Linked DNA regions of Homo sapiens: region 2 is linked to region 1. The links are contacts of gene promoters, found by promoter capture Hi-C in blood cells and fetal thymus (Javierre and others, 2016). All regions are on one chromosome and are shown on one strand. The core of a region is centred on a gene start or on the middle of the fragment in contact, and the rest is flanking DNA. Distances in the headings are between cores, read along the strand shown. Region 1 holds the start of UMODL1-AS1 (UMODL1 antisense RNA 1). Region 2 has its middle 26 kb from the start of ZNF295-AS1.

Region 1 (7,050 bases), core at 2,837-5,336:
GAGATACAGAAGAGCTGGGGAGATACAGAAGAGCTGGGAGGTACAAAACAGCTGGGGGTACAGAACAGCTGGGGGTGCAGAACAGCTGGGGAGATACAGAATCTCTGGGGCATATAGAACAGCTGGACAGATACAGAGCAGCTGGGGAGATACAGAGCAGCTGGGCAGATACAGAACAGCTGGGGATGCAGAACAGCTGGGGGTGCAGAAGAACTGGGGAGATGCAGAACAACTGGGGGTGCAGAACAGCTGGGGAAATGCAGAATCTCTGGGGCATATAGAACAGCTAGGCAGATACAGAGCAGCTGGGGAGATACAGAACAGCTGGGGAGGTGCAGAACAGCTGGGAGTACAGAAGAGCCGGGGGTGCAGAAAAGCTGGGGTGCAGCACACCTTGGTGTGCAGAGCAGCTGCAGGGCTGCAGAATGCTTGGCAGGGTGACGGAACAGCTGAGGGGTGCAGAACAGCTATGGGAGTGCAGCATTACTGGGAGGGTGCAGAGTTGTTGTGGGGGTGTCATCACACTGATCGGGGCCGGGACACAGTTCTGCTAGGAGGCAGGACAGCGGGGGTGGGCAACACCTCAGGGGATGGCTCCAGCACCTAACGCGACAAGTAAGGCCCAAAGCCTGCTCCTGAAGGCAGACCTCCGCCCCAGCTGCTGCAGACAGGGAGCCCTAAGAGATGGGGAAGAGAGATCTGGGACAGGCAAGGGGACCAAGCTGTCTTCCTAACTCAACTAGAAACCAGCTGCTGGGTGCCTCCGTTTCCACACGCACAAGATGAGGATGCCGCCTGAGCATTGCTAGCAGCCTGCGACTCCACGGCTGCAGGAGCTTTGCCCCAGAGGCTCACACAGGCTATGGGTCCTATTAGTCCTAGTCCCCATGCACCATTCGAGGAACTCACCACAGGCGGGGGTCTTCAGAGCTGTGAGGGTGGAGGTCAATGGCAGGTCTACAGAACCGGAGGGTCCACTGTCCTCATTTCGCAGCCACGTGGGATTCAGAAGTGTTTCCCGGGTGGAACGGGTGGCATGCCACAGGAAGTGGCCGGTGGGGTCCTCAGTAGGGGAAGGCCAGGAGGGTGGCTCCATGATGGAGTTTCCCTGTAGCTGTCCAGGGAGGGCCAGTGGGCCATCTGTGGCCCCAGGAGGGAAGCTGTGGGTTGACCCAGTAGCCTTCGGGGAGGAGGTGGTGCCTATCACCCCGATAGTGTTCCTATGGCTGGGGCTCGCCTGGCTGGTGCTCCCCTGGCTGGGGCTCTCCTGGCTGGGGCTCCCCTGGCTGGGGCTCCCCTGGCTGGAGTTCGCGTGGCTGGTGCTCCGCTGGCTGGGGTTCACCTGGCTGGGGCTCCCCTGGCTGGTGCTCCTCTGGCTGGGGCTCGCCTGGCTGGTACTCTCCTGTCTGAGGCTCCCCTGGCTGGGGCTCCCCTGGCTGGGGTTCACCTGGCTGGGGCTCCCCTGGTCCATCCCCAGACCCGGGGCAGTGCTGGGCACCTCCTGCTCCACGCCTTTTCCTGTGTTGTTCCTGTCATACCCGACCACATTGCTGCCCCCTCTTCTGGGTGAGGGCTCTGGGGTCCAGGCCTGGCCTGCTGCCGGGGTGCCCTGAGGGTACCCAGGACTGGGTGACAAGGTGAAGTTCTCTAGGCCGAGGGCTGCTGTTCCCGTGCCAAGACCTGGGACCGTTACCCCTGTTGCCGCAGACAGTCCACCGCCCATGGGGCTCACCAGGTCACCTGCCAAGACACATCCACTGTCAGAGCCTGCTGGATCCCACCCACGAGTAAGAGCCCTCCCAGGAGGGCAGCATGGCCGTCCAGCAGGACTGCTCTGCATCCCGGAGTGGACCTGGCCAGGGACGCAGGCGGGCGCCAGCGTTCAGGAGTGTTTCCTGGGCCCATGTTTGCAGCCTCCCCGGGGCTCTCTGAAGGCAAATCACGCCTCTCCACTGGATAAATGAGGAAACTGAAGTTGAGGGTGAGGGATCCACCCGGGGGGCTACAAAACCCGGGCTTGAATGCAGGGCTTGGTTCTCATAGGCCTCAGATTAATCCATCAGGACTCTGGGAAAATGGGACAATTTCCCCCAGATTTGTGCTCAATGTGGGACTTGGTGCTGGATGCTGTCATCGACTTGCAGGACATTAGGCGAATGAGAAAAACAGAAGACAAGGTGTGGGATGTTAGGAAGCAGGACAGCACACGCAGTGTCTAAGGAATATTCTCCCCAGGGAACTGGTCTCGGCTGCTCCTTCCAGCTAGAAAGCCCTCAGCAGGGGCTGGCAAGCCAGTGGCTGGGCGCCTCTGCCACGCCTGTGTCCGGGCCGACATTGCTAATCAGTCACTGCATTTTAGGTCCCTACGTGGCCTCCTCCTGCTGCTCAATTCAGCATCCCAGGTATCCCCGACCCACTCATCAGAACTGGTCCACAGAAAAGACTGGGGGCCGATACAGCAGGACTAGAGCTCAGCGGCCCCCATCGGGCCTCTCTGCAGCTTCTCTGGGCTTCCACACTGTCTCGGGCTCCAGGCCACACCCTCTCGGGCTCCAGGCCACTGGGGAAGGAATCCCTCGACCCCGGGCTGCATCCTGACTTCTGTGGGCCCAAGGAACTTGGCCTTCATGGACCCCTGCACCCCTCCACTTAACAATCTATCAAAAATTACATTTTATAATGGCATTTAGATAGAGATGAGTGTAATCCAAGCTAGATTCATTGTTTTATGTATATTTACTATCCTTCTATTAATTTCTTTCTTCTGATTTTAAAATAAATTGAAATGAAAACATTTCTGTAGGCCCCTAACATTACCATAGGTCCTCAGCCCTGTGCCTATGGAGAATTGGGCTTTGCCCCACCCCCAGATTCTCGGGCAGGGGGTCTTCCCAGAGTCGGCAGGGGGGTCGACACGTACCCTCACAGGCCCGGCCTGCGCGGGAGGGGGTGGCGTCCCTGGTGGTACGGCACTGGCAGGTGTAGGAGCCCTCCAGGTTGATGCACCAGGCAGCCGGTGAGCAGTCGTGTTCCGCGCTGTCCACACACTCGTCCCAGTCTGCCAGGGGGAGACACAATCAAAACCCATGAGAAAACAGCCAAAGAGTGATCAGAAGACAGACCCATGCTGGAAGGAGTCCTTCCTAGCCGTCTTTGCAGTGAACGGCCGGGAGCAGGGGCATTTTGGGGCATCCGTCCAACACTCTCATGACAACCTTACGGCCTGCCTGTGCCCACCTTCACATTGGTTGGCTTATTTGGGGGCAAAGATTAGGAAATGTTCATTCCTTAAATATTAGCACCCATGGGTGTGCATGTAGCCCTCTCTTCTTTATTCTGTTTCCACACCCAAAACTTGAAATGTTTTCTCCTCTCTCTTTGATGTGCCAACATTCTCCAATACTTAGTGTCTCAACCAAGAAATAGGAAAGTAACTGAGCCAGGGGTGGGGACACAGCTGAGTATAACGTGAACTTTCCGCATGGGGGGTGGGGGTCCAGCGGAGTATAACACCAGCTTTCCACGCCGGGGGTGGGGGTCCAGCGGAGTATAACACCAGCTTTCCACGCCGGGGGTGGGGGCCAGTGGAGTATAACATGAGCTTTCCACACCGGGGGTGGGGGTCCAGCTGAGCATAACACCAGCTTTACATGCCAGGAGTGGGGGTCAGCCTGAGTATAACATGGACTTCTCTCGTGGGGGGGGTGGGGGTCAGCCTGAGTACAACATGAACTTCCCACGCCGGGGGTGGGGTCCAGCGGAGTACAACATGAACTTCCCGCGCCATATTCTAGAGCACCCGGGTGTCTCCACAGGTATGTCCCTCCTCCTGTGCCCAAAGACTTGTGATGTCATGTCACCGGGGGGCCCGCCTGAGGGGAATGAAGGTGAGGACAAGGACAATGTAGCTCCCATGGGGTGGCTGAGCCGAGGTCGTCAGGGCCAGGCCCTGCTGGAGGTGACAGTGCCTTCTGCGCGTGCTTCTGTAGAGCTGCGGGTGGAGGTGCTCGGGAACGAACCCACACCCGGCATGCCAGAGAAGTTCCAATTCAGGTGGAATTTAAGCCACGATGCAGGACCAGTTCAGTTCTGGGCAAAGAAAACCCTGCTGCTGAGTGCTCTGAGGCTCGTTTTGTGGGTTTTTTTCTGTTGTGCTTCCTGCGGTCTCCACAGAAGCAGCTTCCCTGGAGAACAGCAAGCTCGTCAGCTGCCACAACAGCTATGCCACCACCCTAGCATGGCCTGGGGGCTGCCTTGCCATCAGAACACTGCTGGTGCCAACCCACACCTCTTCCTGGGGTGCTACTCAACCTCCAGCCTACAGGTAACTCTCCTGGGGGTGCTCCGGGTTGGGGTTGGAGCCTAGGCTGGCTGGGCTGCAGTCCACGGAGGACAGCAGAGGCACCAGGCAAGACGCTGGCTCAAACCACCAAGCACCTGATGTCTATTTTGGGGCGTGGTGATTCACCTAATCTTCACTCCTCCGTCCCCCCAGACAGCTCCCAAGCGAGCTCAGAGGAAGGCGCTGACAGCTGTATTTAGTCTTGCATTAAGCCTTGAGGCTTGCCGGCCCTCCAGTTCAGAGGAAGAGGCAGGTGTGGGAGCAGGAAGAGCTGCCAGTGAGCCTCTGCACCCTCCCGGGCTGGCCAGGCGAGGGCGCAGAGCCAGCGAGAGCCCAGGGCAGGACGCTGCACACTGCTCCCACTGGCCCCGCAGCTGGGACAAGGGCTGAGCCCTCTCCTGGAGCAATGGGGGCAGCTGCTTCAGAGACTCCCAGCCCAGGTGCCCCTCCTGAGCTGGCCCCACCCAGAACAACAAGCTGGAGAGGGTCCAGGAGCAGGTACAGACCCCAGATCTCCTGGGCCACCCTGTCCCAGCAAGGTGCAGGCTCCTCAGTTGGACCATGAGCTGTCTTTCAGGGCCCAGGGCGTCCTCCAGAAGTGATGCCCCTCGGACTCTCCTGGGGGCGTGTGTCAGATTCACACTGGGAGAAAGAGGGCACAGAGCACCTCATCCTAATGCCACCGCAAATGGACGCTGGACAAATAGCGGTACCCGTGAACCTAAGGAAAGGAAGCAGCCTGCAGTAGGTTAGCCTGGCCAGCAGGTGAGGGGGATGGTGACAGCCCTAGGCCAGGATCCTCACTCACGGCCCTTCTCTCACTCTGCAGAGGGGATGGAAAGGGCTCGCGCAGTGGCGAGGCGGGTGGGAGCAGGCAGCAAACTGGAAGCTTTGGGGAGCTCAGCTCCACCTACTCTGGCCCCAGGAAAAGCGGCGTTGATTCCAGAGCCCCAGAAGACCCACAAGGCCTCTTACGCAGAAGGATGCCGGTGGGAGTCCTGCTCCTCTGGCTAAGGTCGGTGCAGAGGGTTCACAGCGGTGCCTCATAGAAGCCCAGTGATGACCCTCACTCTAGAACAAATGCACACTGTATGAGAATCTCTCCTGAGAGCAGATGTTGGGAAAGAGAAGGAATAGGGGCCGTGCTGTTAGGAGCAAGAGATTGAATGGAAATGATGTGAGGGGTTCAAAAAGGAGCCCCGTGAGGCGGAAGGACCAGTGGGAACCCAGGGGTTGCTAGGAGACCTTCCTAGATGAGCTCTCATCCAAGATATGAAAGTTAATCCTGGAAGAGTTAGCCCTGAACGCTGGAGGGGCCATCAGAAATGCACTGTCGCCATGCACAGGCACTGGGCTAAACCCACACAGGCATTGTGCCTTAATTTACTCCATCGCCATAGGAGGTGGGATGTTGCTGTAATCTCATTCCACAGATGAGTATACTGAGGCCCAGGGAGAGGAAGTCATTTGTGCAGCATCCCACAGTGAGTGAGTGTCAGAGCTGGGATTCCAACCCGTTCCGCCTCACTCTAACCTCTTCCTATGGGGCAAAGTGAGCAGGAGGTTTGGCCGCCGCTGTGAGGGTGCAACTCATAGGCGCGGGGGGCGGCTCAGCCTCCAGGCCTCCCAGCACATGGTACGTACCTCCTGGGGAAAGACCGAACACATGGCCACCTACACAGCCCACCGTGACTGGCGCAGGAAACCCCAGGCCCCGGGATGGACGGCCTAAGGGTAAAGATAAGGTCACGACAACCTGACCCCTCCACGGGCGAACAGCGCCTCATCTATCGGGGTTGGGACATGTGGACGCACCGGCAGGGAGTGCTCCTGAATGACTGAGGAATGCTCTAGTTGTGCCAACAACATTATTTCTAGGTGGACCACAGCGCAAATACCTTTTCTTCTTCAGAGGAGCTCTTTTTGTGTTTTCGTTTCTTGTTTTTTTTGCCGAGTAATATCAAATGTCTTCTTCTACAGATCCTCGCCGTGAAGGTGGGGCTCTCAGCGGGGGTGGATGTCCCCCTGTAAGCTGGGCTCAGGCCTCGTGCTGCCTCCCCAGGCAGGGGCGGTGCCCCATGGTTGCTCCCCCGACTCTGGCGTCCGAAGACACCAGTAGTCATGGAGTCAAAAGAGTGCAGAGGCAGGGCCGCCTCCCCGGCCATGCACGGCCTGAGGCGTCACCATCACTGGCCACACAGCTGACCCCCCAGCTCAGGAGACCTGCCCGCACCAGCACCTCAGCTCTGAAATGTGGAGGAAGCAGGCCACAGCCTGCCCGGGACCCTGCCGGGCAAGAGCCTGCAGAAGGAGCTTAATAACTTCTGCAGGACCACTGAACAGCGTGGGGAGTGGGGTGCTGCGAATGCTTACAATGGATTCATCCAGTCCTAGAGGTGCAAGACACGGGTCTCCTGTGGCTGCCATCACAAACACACCAGCTGGGGGGCCTGAAACAGCACAGATGTATTCCCGCCGTTCCGGAGGCGAAGTCCAAACTCCAGGTGTCAGCAGGGCCGCCCTCCCTCTGGGGCTCTAGGAAAGGGGCTTTCCCAGGCCTCTTCCAGTGTCTTATCTTGTGGCTCCAGGAGTCCTTTGGCTTGTGGCTGCATCACTCCAATCTTGGCCTCTGTGTCTGTGTCTCCTCCTCTTGTCTCGTATAAGAACACTTGTCACTGAACTTCAGGCCAACCCAAATCCAACGGCAG
Region 2 (7,050 bases), core at 3,086-5,585, 130 kb after region 1:
GCTCTCCCTGTAACGTGAACAGCTGAACTGTAGATAATCAAGTTAATGCTACCAAGCTGACTGGAAAATAAAGAATTAGAAGGTACAGAGACCCACAGTGGTTTGATCAGTGCTGATTCTCACCTGCTTGGACTCGTACTTCTTGGCTTCTGACAGTTCTGTTTTCCTTTGCTGATATCCTAAACTAGCCTTTCTCGGGAGCCTCTGCCCAAAGTGTCTGGAACACACTGTACCAGGAACAAATTTTATATATATATATATAAACCTTCTGCTTTAACCCTGTTATTCAATTCGTCACCAATTATTGGTGGTGGTTTTATTTTCTTTTTATTGTTTTTAGGTTTCCCTTTTTTTTTTTTTTTTTTTTTTTAGCAATAACAGGCTTTGTGAGGTTTGGGATTGCTGCACTCCTTTGCATCCTCTCAATCTTTGGCACATACTCAAGACAGTAAATAGTGTGGTGGCAAAATCATGTCCCCAGTGTTTAATATTTTCCCCAGCCAGAGGCAAAATCTTGGCTCAGTTCTTATGAACTTGAGTTCTATGAACTTGGAAAGTTGAGTGGCAGGTGTTCCTCATACATGGTGTATGTGTGAGATTTGCCATATTGTCATAGAGGCACTTTACAAATACAGCATGGGGAAACCCTGCTGCAGCATGAATTTGGGTATCATGCTATTGGCCATCAGACCCCGTCCTCCACAGGAGAGCCCTTGGTCAGCTCATCCACCTCATGATAATGCAAGTCTGCCTTTTGTGCAGTGTCTTAAATCCCACTTGTGGTTGGCATCATTTCCTCCAGAAAATACTTCCTGGTCCCTTTCCAGGTGCTCTTCACCCCAGCCCACGGCAGTTGCCCCTCCTAAGTGTTCCCCATAACACCCTGATATCGGCCTGTCATTTGACTTATTACTTTCTGTTTCATCTGCGTGTGGTTTATCCTGCTAGACTAGGAGGGACCCAGGGATAGGGGCTATTCTTGTGTTTCCAGGACCTGGCAAAGGGAAGGTGCCTATTAAGTATTTGATAAATACAGCAAAGAAATTTTGTCTGAGGCAACAGTCAACCAATTTATTTTTAGCTAATATAGGAAAGTTAGTGAAGATCTCTGCAAATGGTCTCCAGATTTTGATTTCACCTACACAGAGATCCATAGTGTATTTTAATTTCATGTGATTCTCAGTAAGCCCAAGGGAGAATGGAAATGTTTGAATGGCTGGTGTTAGATTGACAAGTTCCTGGAACTTTGTGAATCCCGGGCACTCTGTGCTGCTGTGATTGTTCTGGATGTGTGACAATCCATGTGCATCCTTGGCACTGCCAAGGTCCCCCTTAGGACACCCAAGTATGGAAAGTTGCCTAATAAACTCATCAGTAAACCTAAGAAAAGGAATAGTAACTAATTCTGAGTGCTTATTGTGTGTGAAGCACTGTACAGGTGTGTGGTGGTATTTGTAAACCATTAACAGACTTGTTTTTCTTTTTACTCCCATTCCCCATTCTCAGGTATCCCAGTCTCCTGCAGTCTGGAATATTCCTTATTCTCTCTGGCTTTTTTGGCCTTGATCATTTGGAAGACTGTGAACCAGTCATTTTGTAGAGTGTTTCTTACTTGGAGTTTGTCCCATGCTTCCTCATGACTGGACCATCACTATGCGTTTTGGGGTCAAAATATACAGAAGCTCTATTCTCTTCATTTCAACCTATGGATGGCATCTGATGCCTGTATGCCCTGTTGCTGATGGCATTCATTTTAATCCTTTGACTAAGGTGGACTTCTGCCAACGTCTCCACTATGTTTGCCCCCATTTGTAGTTAATAAGTATTTTGTGGGGAGATATTTTGAGACTATGTAAAATTCTACTCCTCATCTCAATTCTACCCACTAATTTTAGCATCTCTTGATGTTCCTTGCCTGAATTAATTTATTTTTACAGTTGTTGCCAAATGGAGGTTTTCTCATCCATCGTTCCCTCTTCATTTATTTGTGGGCTTTCTACTGCAAGGAAAAAAATGTTCTGTAATTCCCATTAACTTACTAATTTACATGTGTATGTGTTGTGGATTCATAGATTCCTATTCTGTTCAATGGTTTCTAATCAGTTGCCACCTTTTTTATTTTTTTGATGTTCAAATTATCCTAAATTTAGTAGGAGTTTCAGACCAGGCTGCTGCAAGCTTTGACATATCCTCTCAGCAAAGTAAGAAAAATGCTTAAAGAGCCTGAGGTTTTTTTTTCTTAATTTCTGGCACAACAAGATGTTCCAGACTCATCTCCCTCTTTCCCTGCCAGAGCCCTGAAACCAGCCATTTTATTTTTGTATATGTAATAAGCTCCAAAATACATTGTTATTATTTTTGCTTTAAATGGTCAATTGTCTTTTAAAGATATTTAATTAAAAAAAGTCTTTATAGTTACCTATGTAAGTTTCCATTTCTGGTACTCATTATTTTGCCTGCAGATTCAAGTTTCCTGTGATATCATTTTACTTCTGCTCAAAAGACATTAACATTTCTTTTAGTGTAGGTCTACTGATGCTGGGTTCTTTCAGCTCAGGTATATCTAAAAAATATTTATTTTGCCAACCTTGAAAGCTATTTTTGATGGGCATGGAATTCTAGATAGCTTTTTTTTCTTGTGGTGCTTAAAATATGTTGCTCACTGTTTCTAGCTTTATTTCCAGTGAGAAATCCTGCTGTCCTTACCTTTGTTCCTCTGTATACAGTATGTCTTTTTTACTCTGGCTGCTTTTTTAAAGTTCTCTTTATTACCAGTTTTATGCAATTTGATTAGGATGCATGACCTTATATTAGGCCATTTGAAATTGTCTCAGAAATCACTATTGTTCTGGTGCATTGTTCTCTTTTTTCTCTGTGTTTCCTTTTGGATAGTTTCTATTGTTATGTCTTCTAGTTCACTAACCTGCTGCAATGTCTAATCTGCCACTGATGCCATCTGGTGTATTTTTCATTTCAGATGTGTAGTTTTCATCTCTAGAAGTTTGATTTGAATTTTAGGTATATATTCTATGTATCTACTTAACACATTCCATCTTTTCTCCGGCTTCTTTACCATATGGGATACAGTTAGAACACCTTTATAATGTCCTTGACTACTAATTCTATCATCTACTCCATTTCTAGGTTTGTTTTAAATTGATGTATTTTTCTCCTCATTCTGGGTACCTTTTTGTTTCCTCTTGGCATGTCTGGTAATGTTTTGTTGAATTGCAGACATTGTGAACTTTACCCCATGGGTGCTGGTTGTTTTTGTATTTCTATAAATATTCTGGAGCTTTATTGGGGGGATGTAATTAACTTACTTGGAAACCATTTTATCCAGGTTTTGCTTTTAAATGGTATTAAATGGGATCAGAGCAGAATTTAAATGCGGGCTAATTTTGTTCCGTTACTGAGGCAAGTACACCCCCTGTACTCAATGCCCTTGAATTACTTCAAGCACTGTATGAACTCCAGGGATTGTTCCTTCTAATGCTTATGTGTTTTGTTGAGTTTTTTTGTTTGTTTGCTTTTTTTTTTTAACCAGCTTCAAGAAGTTTCCTTACATGTTGAAGAGTCAAGGGACCTCTCTGCAGACCTCCAGAGTTCGTTCTTGTTCATTCGCGCGCGCGCTCGCTCACTCTCAGGCTTTCCCTTTTCCAGCACACTATGCTTAGAACCCTAGCCGCCTTTCCCTTCCTGGACTCCCAGCTCCATCTCCTCAACTCAGGAACACTGCTGGTTTATCCCATCTCTTTCTCATCTCCCGGTGATCACTGTTCTTTGTTGCCTTATGTTCAGTGTTTTGAAAATCACTCATATGCTTTGTCTGGAATTTAGTCATTTCACGCAAGATGGAAAATCAAGGCTCTATGATTTCATCTTGCCCAGAAGTGGAAATGAACTTGTTATTTTGTCATGGATAAGTTAGCTAATATGTCCTAAAGCACCTAGCCCTGTATGTCTGGGGATGCTATGCCAGAAGTTTGCCAGTGGAAAATTCTCCCAAATTCTAAGCAGCTTATTTATGAAAGAACTCAGTAGAGATTTTCTCAAACTTAAAAAAAAAATTACACACATCTCACTAAATTCAGATGAACTTTATCTCCTCCTCAACTCACCTTTAGTCAGGTCTGAAAAAGCCTATGGTCACTTTAGCAGCAACCATCATGAAAGAAATTATGGGAGAGAAGGTCAGGATGGAAAGAGACAGGCATCTCTCTCCTGTTTGGTATATGCACGGTCACAGTTTTACAAAGCCATAAAATATTACAAATTATAAAATAGTGAGATATTTATGACCTGGAAATTTCCTGACAACTGAGGCACCTGGAACTTCAGCTTCACAGTAAATCTGCCTATTTTATTCATTCACAGTGAAAAACCTTGGTCACAATCCAGTATGTGGATTTTATAAGCTGATAATGGGTCATAATCTGCCATTAGCCCTTTCCCTTGGCCAGGTCTTCAGATGACCTGGGTGGCAAGGATGGACTCTACAAAACCAGGCTGGGGTGGTGTCCAGCTTGATGGCTGGAGGAAGAGCCATTGCTTTGGGTTCTCAGTGTTTTTGGTGACCGATGATATGTAGTTAAAATGGCAGAAACACTAGATCTTTTCTCTCATGTGATAAAGACATCAGGAAGTTAGGATGCAAACTTTATTTCTACCACTTGAAACAGAAATTGGTGTGTAAGGAAGCAGAGATTTTGTTCTGAGGGTCCCCATTATTATTTAAAAGTAGGTTTTCACGGGCATGAAAGTTGGGTTTCCAAGTGGAGTTCATGGAACAAAAGAGCCAGTTTCTGTTCACAAAACCAAAGACCAAAGATAGATTACTGAATAATGTATAAGTTTGATGTTATAAAAATAACATGTCTGTCTGACTTGTTGTTAGGTGAAAGCATTAAGTACAAAATAACTTACTAGCCCTTTAAATAAAATGATTTACATCAACTGCTGTTGGTCCTCTAAGAAGTGTTAGGCTTCATGTCTAGCCCCTACACAGCCATATTATTTTAGAAACATTGAGTGGGAGCTTTTCCTGATTTGTCAGAGTGAATAGTTTGGAAAAATCTCTAGCCTGTCACTAAGAAAAGGCTACCAATAATTGAGGAGCTAAAGCTCTTTCGCTGGAAACTTACTTGATGATCCAAAGAGTTATAGTTGAAGAGTTACCAGAGCTCAGGAAAAATATTAAAATTTATACAATTTGGAAATTCTGTTATTTCTGTTATTTGGAATAACCATATTTCCATTGCCAATGCTAGGACACAGGTCTAGGAGCATATTATGTCCCCAGTAAGTGGTTTTAGTTTTTTTTTTTTTTTTTAATACCATGAAGGCAGGGTCGCATCATAACTCTTGTGGGCCCTAGACACTTTGGGGACACACTTCCTCCACAAAATATATACAAAGTCATATTTTGCAACTACATTGATATAAGGGCAAATATAATCCAAGCTGTATTAAAAATAAACTTTTCTTCAACCCCTAACAACTCATTTTTTTCCTTCTGATTTTAAAATAAACTAAAACATTGTGGTCCATTAAAAAAAATTTATGGTTCCTTAAAAGTGCCAGGGGCTCTAAGCACTTTGTCTCCTGTGCCTAATGAATAAGTTGGCCCTGATTAAAGGAAGAAATGAAGCAGGCATGCAGCCAGCAGGGAGAAACAGATTCCAATAGAGATAAATGGAAACTTGGGGTTCTAAAGTTTCTGTTGGAAAAGTTGTCCAGTGGATGACAACCTCCCAACATTCATGTGTATTTTTTAGCCTGGATAACTGTGACTATGAATTCTTATTGACATTTTTTTTATCCTCTAAAAAATAAGGGGCTTTTATAGCTGACACAGGATGAATTAGGTGCTCTGAGAAGCACTCAGATTCTTGACAAAACACACTTTTTGATGAATGCCAGACTTATAAGAGTAGGGAGTTTTCCAAGCCCTTCCTCAACTTACCTCCAAGAAGCCAACAAAACTCTTGAGCTAGGCAGAGCTCAGTGACCTGATGGTGGACACTCCTAGTGTCACTGTCTGGGCACACTGACAAAGTAGGGGAGTTGAGCCTGTGACACCCACATTGAATCGGGACCCTGCAAGGTGGGTGGGGACTGACAAGGTGTACAGAGAAGAGTAACCACAGCTCTCCTGGGAGAGGAGGCAAGGTTAGGTCTTGCCTGGCATCTAGGAACTTGGATTTGGGGAGGTTCTCACTGTCCCTGATAAACCCAGTGGCTTACTGCGCCTAAACGTGTACAAACCATACACTTCATGCTGAACAGCCGCTTTCCTTCCAAGAGTCTGGAATGTTGATGCGTCCTGGGCAGAAGACACCTATATGACTAGCCCCCAGTAACGACCCTGGCACCAAGTCTCTAACGAGCTTCCCTGGGGGCAATGTCTCATTCATGTTGCCACAAGTAGTTCCTGAAGGAATTAAATGCATCCTGTGTGACTTCACTATGAGAGGGCTCTTGGAAGCTTGCTCCTGGTTTCTTTCAGATTTCATGCCCTTTTTTTCCTTTGCTGATTTTGCCTTGTGTCCTTTTACTGTAATCAGTCACACCCATCAGTGCAACTCTCTACCAAGTCCTGTGAGTCCTCCTAGCCAATCATTGAACCCAGGGTTGGTCTTGGGGTTCCCCAACTCATGGTTTCAAGTCCGTGACACCTGTGGTTTGCAGTGAATCCAACAACAATTGTATTTGTGAAAGCACCACAAATTTAGACTTTCATGATTCCAGCAGATCGAGCCAAGGGCTCACACTCAACACATGAGCAGGCAAGCAACCCCTTGAATGAGAGTCAGCAGAAACAACCAGCAACAGAACTAGACCATCAGAGACGGCTGACATCACCACTGTCATGTGCCAGGTACACAGCAGATACTTATGAAACGTTTAAATAAATGAAACATGAAACAATAAGATGACAAGTAATTGGACACTATCAGTACTGAACAGGCAGATTTGAGAAAGGAACAAATGGAATTTCTAAAAAAGAAAAGAGGTTTTAAGTAAAAAATCTCAATGAATGAGTTAAAG

What was found. Contacts are between HindIII fragments. The CHiCAGO score rates a contact against its expected background, and 5 or more counts as called.
Region 2: a fragment that was not itself captured here is called in contact with the fragment with the promoter of UMODL1-AS1 in region 1 in 1 of 17 cell types (M0 macrophages); the score reaches 5.3 in M0 macrophages.

The regions. Positions count from the first base shown.
Region 1 is chr21:42,105,570-42,112,619 of GRCh38, reverse strand. UMODL1-AS1 (UMODL1 antisense RNA 1) reads left to right here and starts at 4,086. Exons shown (of 2, transcript NR_027243.1): 1 at 4,086-4,324. It overlaps UMODL1 (uromodulin like 1), which reads right to left. Exons shown (of 23, transcript NM_001004416.3): 10 at 2,921-3,058; 11 at 1,499-1,740; 12 at 910-1,114. RefSeq lists a silencer at 4,547-4,841 and an enhancer at 4,818-4,937. The HindIII fragment of the contact is 14,881 bases long and covers 1-5,233 here.
Region 2 is chr21:41,979,327-41,986,376 of GRCh38, reverse strand. No RefSeq gene overlaps it. Among named protein-coding and RNA genes, the nearest start is that of ZNF295-AS1, 26 kb to the left of the region's middle. The HindIII fragment of the contact is 4,309 bases long and covers 2,181-6,489 here.